Linked DNA regions of Homo sapiens: region 2 is linked to region 1. The links are contacts of gene promoters, found by promoter capture Hi-C in blood cells and fetal thymus (Javierre and others, 2016). All regions are on one chromosome and are shown on one strand. The core of a region is centred on a gene start or on the middle of the fragment in contact, and the rest is flanking DNA. Distances in the headings are between cores, read along the strand shown.

Evidence for each region. The method cuts DNA at HindIII sites, captures the fragments that hold promoters and counts their contacts. A CHiCAGO score of 5 or more calls a contact.
Region 2: a contact is called between a fragment that was not itself captured here and the fragment with the promoter of TRERF1 in region 1, in 1 of 17 cell types (M0 macrophages). The highest score is 5.5, in M0 macrophages.

Annotation. Positions count from the first base shown.
Region 1 is chr6:42,450,433-42,453,666 of GRCh38, reverse strand. It overlaps TRERF1 (transcriptional regulating factor 1), which reads left to right and starts at 1,741. Exons shown (of 18, transcript NM_001395490.1): 1 at 1,741-1,993; 2 at 2,406-2,490. LOC124900214 (arf-GAP with GTPase, ANK repeat and PH domain-containing protein 2-like) reads right to left here and starts at 1,307. Exons shown (of 4, transcript XM_047419627.1): 1 at 1-1,307. The coding sequence starts at 846. It overlaps LOC107986596 (a long non-coding RNA gene), which reads right to left and starts at 1,307. Exons shown (of 5, transcript NR_171668.1): 1 at 1,042-1,307. RefSeq lists silencers at 287-726, 1,197-1,276. The HindIII fragment of the contact is 2,023 bases long and covers 187-2,209 here.
Region 2 is chr6:42,329,506-42,332,739 of GRCh38, reverse strand. The region is part of intron 3 of TRERF1 (transcriptional regulating factor 1); the gene reads left to right. Among named protein-coding and RNA genes, the nearest start is that of MRPS10, 110 kb to the right of the region's middle. The HindIII fragment of the contact is 6,589 bases long and covers 1-3,234 here.

The DNA of each region.
Region 1 (3,234 bases), core at 492-2,991:
TCTTGCGCGACATTTTGGGGGAAGGGGCGCAATGATTTCCCCCACGGAAAAAAATGGATGGTGTAACTTTCTGTCGTGCAAAAAATACTGTCTTGCCCTCGAGACAGATGCCTCGAACCCGGCTCGAGGTGGTCTGTTTAGCTGAACTACCTTTGGTTCACGTTTCCTCTGACCAGGAAAGAAGCTTGGAAATGCAGGGGTCTCAGGCCAGGTTCCCTGACACCTGGGCCGACCACTGCCACGCCTTCTCGGGACCTGGGGGCCGTCCTGCTGTTGCCCTCCGCCCCCGCCCGCGCCGCGGAGGTTTGAACCTTCGGCTCGCCTTTCAGCCCGCGCCCTGCCCCCTGCTCGCAGCTGCTCCCGGTTTGGGTGCAGCGGTTTCCCCCGCAGAGGAGGAGGAGGAGACAGCGCGAGGGAGCGACTCCGGGCTCGGGTTTCCGCACCAATGCCGAGCAGCCCCGGGCGGCCCCCGGTGGCCGTCCCTCCTCCCCGGCACCACGTTCCACAGTCATGGCGCGCGAGGAGGGGCGAGCGCGCGCGGCGGCTGCACCCGCGCCCCCTCTCCTCCCCTCCCCTCCGCCGCCCGGCCCCTCTCCTAGGCAACCCCCCTCCCCGGCCTGCTGCGCCTGCCGCGGCAAGGGAGACCCCTCCCCAGAGAGCTGCTCTTCCAGCGCGGTCTACTGCACCCCTTCCCCGCCCCCATCGGGGCGGAGGGATGGAGACGCGCGCTTCGCGAACCTCCAGCCCCTTCTCCGGAGCCCCAGCCCTCTCCCAGCCCCACCGAGGCCAGGGTGCGGTGGGGGTAGGCGCGGACCGTCTCCTCGCAGCCCGCCTCGACCTCGGCATCTTTGCAAACACTTAGAAAAATAAACAAACCCCCTCACAAACCCCAGTCGTTAGCTTGCAAAGCGTGTTACAATAACCGGGACGGCTACGCAGGAAGCAATCCTGCACTGGTCCGGGTTTAAGGCGGCAGCTTCCCGGCCACGCTGCCTTCTCCCCGGCCTCGATTTTCCGGCCATGCCGGAGGGTCCGCTGCACCTCAGGGCTGACAGGTCCCGCTCGCGCAGGGCCGCAACTGGGCCCGTGTCCCCCGTCCCATCCTCGTCCAGAGACTCGCCAGCCTACAAAAGGTGCAACCTCACGCACACGCAAAGCGCACAAATAAAGTCAGCAGCGCACCGCCGCGAAGGCTGCGAACAATGCGCCGGGCGGCCCGCGCCCGCCGTAGCGCTGCGCCCCGGGGGAAAGGGGACGCGGGCGGGGGCCGAGGCGGACGACCAGCCGGTCGCGGCGCTGGACACCTTACTTCCTGCTTCCCCGCCCGCGGCCAGACCCAGCTCTGCGGAGGGATATCTCCCCTCCTCGGTCCCTCTCCCTCCCTTCCCCCTCCCTTCCCCCGCCCTCCCCCTCTTTTTGCTCCTGCTCCCCCCCCCCACCCCGCCTTTCTCCTTTTGCAAGAAAATAATTTGACAGTCGATTTGCTGACAAGGGAGGAATTTGCATCCTGGATTTAAAAAAAAAAAAAAGGCCGAGAGGAGCTTGGGAACGGTTGCTAGGGGTGGGTAATGGGTGAAAAAAGGGGGGTACCGGGGAGCGGATAAGGAGGGTTAAGGGAGGGGGCGAGGATGGGGAGCAATGCAAAGGTAAGGCCAGGTTACCGCGGCTCGGCCCCGAGTGGGCTGCGACCGGGGGAGGGGCGAGAGATACATATGTATTTCTGTCTCCCCAGCACACCCCCTTCCCTCTAAGCGATGGCTGAGAGGCGGTGCATGCAGATGGGGAGTAAGTTTCCTGAAGGGGAGGGTGGATGCACGCGCGCAGCCCGGCGCTGCAAATTTCCACTGGGGAGGGAGAACGGCTGGATGCGGAGAGTTTGGAGTTGCTTGCGGCGGAGGGCAGGAAGGGGAGCAGGGCTGGGAAAGGGGGCTGGCGGGCGCTATATCTGGGAGTAAGTTTCCAGCATCAGGAGAGCCTGCACGCTTGCTCACTAGTAAGTTTCTGGCCGGGGAGGGCGCATGGGGAGGAGGAGAGGGAGGGGTGCATGTATATAGAAGGGGGGAGGGGGGAGCAGATTTCCTGCGGGGAGGCTGAATGCATATGGAGAGTAGATTTCCTGAAGGGAGGGTGGAGGCGTAGACGGACCGAGTAAGTTTCTTGCTGGGGTGGTGGAGGAGGTGGTGGGTTGGTGCTTTGGAAACCCAAAGCTTCCTACCCTGGGTGGGGGAGCACACTCTTGTCGGGGGGACGAGGGGCCAGGTTCCCTGCTGGGGAGAGGGGCTTGCATCTGGGGAGTATGTTTCCTGGCGGAGCGATATTTGTTTACAGGCTGAGGGCAGTACAGTAAGTGAGTAGCGCTGAGAGAAGGCGGCTGACATAAATTAATATTGAAATTACTCCATCAGCTCTGCTCGCCCCCCATCTCACCCCCCAAGCGGATACTGGTCTTCTCGTCGGATTGCCCATGCACTTGTTGCAGAAACAGCCAAGGTAGGCAAGAAGCTTATTAAGTTTCATTTTTAAAAAATTAGTTTGGGGATGCTCCTCGAGAAGACGGGGGTGGGGCGAAGTGGGGAGGGAAGAGTGGGGAGACAGAAGGAGAAGTCTCCCCCCCCTTTACTTTCACTATGCAAGCAGGCCTTCTCCCTTCTTCCCTTCTTCCCTCTCCGGGCTGCACAGCATCCCAGCAAAGGGGGAGGGATGAGGTGGGCGCTATAATTGGCAACCCTGGCTTAAAGGTAGTGATGGTGGGCTTGCATTTGAGGTTGTGATGTTATAAAGGCTTCATTCTCCAGCTAAGAAACCGCAGGACTCTGCCTTTTGGGGTTTTTGACATGATACATATGTGTATGTATACGCGCCTGCGGGCTCTGTGGGGGCTGGGTACTCCCCAGAAGTTAGTGTGGCCACCCAGATGGGAGAAATGTGTAAGGGGGTAAACCTGTTCCTTCACTCCCCAACTTCAGTTTGGGAGACTGGGAAGTTACTGCCGGTGGTCTTAAGAAACAGATATTAAAAACCAACCAAACCACTCCTTCACCAGCGGAGGCCGAGAGCACCTGGCAGGCAGCCTCTGGCCAGCACTGGACTGGAGCATGTGCGCCTGCCATCCTTAGGTTACAAGAAAACGCTTTCTGGTTCCTCCGTGTGTCTTCTACCGGCCTGTTAGAGCCAGCTTTGTGGAAACTCTTCCCCAGACTAGACGCAGCTTTGGCAAGTGCCAGTACTGAAGGG
Region 2 (3,234 bases), core at 541-3,040, 120 kb after region 1:
ACTGACTGTCCCAAAGAAACCAGTGGAAGAAGTCTTCTTTAAATAGGCCCTAAGTAACCGTGAGGGCCCTTTGAGCACATTTACAGAGGTGAAGGTTACAGTGGTGGGAAGAGAGGTCCTATTATAGAAAAGGAGCAAGGGCTATCTCCTTCCTTTAGAGGGGACCATCCCTTCCATCAAGGAATAGAGACTGCTGCCCAAGGAAGCTGCTCTCCAGCCCCAGCCATGGGAGGCTGCTCTCCCTTTCATTGTTGCTTGCACCCCAGGGAGGTGAGTTGGCATTGCCCCCAGCTTCACCTCCGAGAGAGCCTTGACTGTCCAAGGAAACCTTGTAATAGCTAGTCTGTTTTCTGAGTTGTTTTCTGTCTATAGGGATCTAAGGAAATGTTGGAGTGGGCACCGCGTTCTTGGGCTTGGCCCCGCCTGCTACACCTCACCTTGTCTCTCTCAGGGCCTCTTGTTTGCAAGGCTGTCATGGCTGGTTTAGAATGTTTCCCCGCTGGGCGCGGTGGCACACGCCTGTAATACCAGCACTTTGGGAGGCCGAGGTGGGCGGATCACCTGAGGTCAGCAGTTTGAGACCAGCCTGGCCAACATGGCGAAACCCTGTCTCTACTAAAAATACAAAAAGTACCCAGGTGTGGTGGCACATACCTGTAATCTCAGCTACTCAGGAGGCTGAGGCAGGGGAATCGTTTGAACCCAGAAGGCAGAGGTTGCAGTGAGCCAAGATCACACCACCGTACTGTAGCCTGGGCGACAGAGTAAGACTCCATCTCAAAAAGAAAAAAAGAATATTTCCTGATTTTTCAGGGCAAGAATGGCCAGTGACACATATTTTACAAACTCCTCATTCCTAACTCTTTGGGGCAGAGCTCAAGGGAAAGGGAGGCTGGGGGTGGAAGGGCCAGCCACATGGCCCGCGTGGGCCTGGGGTATGTGTGCCCCTGGCAGCGCTGCTAGGCCAGCTTCACCTGGAACTCAGTGGCATGGAATGTCAGAGCTAGAAGGAACAGCACCCAGCACCCAGCCCTGTGGCTCACAGGGTGCCCTCCCCTGGCTAATTAGTGTCTGATTCTGCCCCAGCTGCTGAATCCCAGCCTCTTCCCCGCTTAGGGATCTGCAGCACCCAGTGGCCCTTCATTCTGCGGGATCTATACCTCTGACCCCTCTGACTTAGTGGTTATCCGGTGGGCGATCCCCAGGGAACGGGCTGGTACTTGGGGTGACCTAGTTGCCAGTCAGTTAATCCCGAGCAGGAACCTCCACTCGCACATCTGCAAAGTGCAGGCAGGTGGAGGGAGGGAGAGTCTCTGCAGGTCTTAGTCTCCTGCCTTCTGACTTTCAGTTAGTCCCATCTCTAGCCTCATCTCAGTCCCCACCCTGCACTCCCCTGGCTTCCTTGCTGCTTCTCTCACTCTCTGGACTTCACCAAGCAGATCACATTCTTCTTATGCACATCCTTCTCTGTGAGTGTCCTGTCCTGCTGCCTCAGTTACCACTCCCATCCATTTGTGGTCTCCCTATAATTTGTTGCTAATTGCCTCTTTCCTGTAAACCGTCATTTTAGTGGAATCTGAGAAGGGAAAGGAGATAAAGACATGCTTTCAATCTACCGTCTTTGAATCAGAAGTCCTACAGCATATTTTGGAGGAGCTTTGTCGAATTCCATTCTATGCCTGTGCCTTCTATTTACCCAGTCTCGTGTTTTGCACACTTAGATTGTTCCTCCCTACAGCTTCCCCGTTAAAAAAAACATCTGGTCGGGTGCAGTGGCTCACACCTGTAATCCCAGCACTTTGGGAGGTCGAGGCGGGTGGATCTCTTGAGCCCAGGAGTTAGAGACCAGCCTGGCCAACATGGTGAAACCCCATTTCTACTAAAAATACAAAAATAAATAAATAAATTAGCTGGGCACCATGGCATGCACCTGCAGTCCCAGCTACTCAGGAGGCTGAGGTGGGAGGATCACTTGAGCCCAGGATGTTGAGACTGCAGTAAGCCAAGATTATGCCACTGCACTCCAGCCTAGGCAAAGAATGAGACTCTGTCTCAAAAAAATAAAAAATACAACAATGTTTGCATGAGTATCCTTGCAGCTAAATCTTTAGGCATATTCCTACAGGTGAATTTCTGTAAGAATTTCTGGGTCAAAGGATATGCAAAACTTTAAGATGTTTCTGGTGCATATTGCTAAAATTCTCTTTATAAATATGATAACTAATTTGCATTCCCATTAGCAATAAATGTGTCCACTTCTTTACACCTTTGTCAGTACTGAATATCTTTGAACCTATGTTTTTGTGTATATAACATGAATATTCTGTAGACTTGACTCCAGGGTCAGAGGGCATGCATGTTGAAATTTTGATAGATACTGGTGAGTTTACTAGCTTTTTCCCCCTAGCCAGTGTATTGGCATACATGTTTCCTCCACATTCTTGCCAACACTGCAGTATGATTTTAAATTCTTTTCCAATTTGACAGGCTATTTTAATCTGCATTTTACTGATGTCTCCTGAGGTTGACTATTTCTTGTGTGTTCATGCCATTTGTGTTTCTTCTCTTGTGGCTTGCCTATAACCCATTTTTTTGCTCGTGTGGTTATTTTCTTATTGATTTCAAAGCTGTCTTTATATATTAAGGATATTAATATGCAGAGGGAAATTAATTTTTTCGTTTTGTTGACATTGAATTTATTTACCCCTTTTTGTTTGTTCATACATAGAATCAATACTTTTTTTTTCCCCCAAGACAGAGTCTTGCTCTGTCGCCCAGGCTGGAGAGCAGTGGTACAATCTCGGCTCACTGCAAGGTCTGCCTCCCGGGTTCATGCCATTCTCCTGCCTCAGCCTCCGGAGTAGCTGGGATTACAGGCGCCCCCACCACGCCCGGCTAATTTTTTGCATTTTTAGTAGAGATGGGGTTTCACCATGTTGGCTAGGCTGGTCTCAAACTCCTGACCTCATGATCCGCCCACCTCAGCCTCCCAAAGTGCTGGGATTACAGCCGTGAGCCACCGTGCCCAGCCAAATCAGTACATTTTCAACGGTAAAATGTCTCGGTCTTTTTCCTGTGTAGTGTGCCTCCAGAATGACCTGTTCCCGAACTTCCTTTATATCTATATATTCGCTGGACCTGAGGGATGGGCTGGCTGCAAATGCATCTGTGACTGAGTTCCAGGTTGTGATCCTCAGTTCCTTCAGAAGACAGTGGACAATTCTTCTGGGGGTT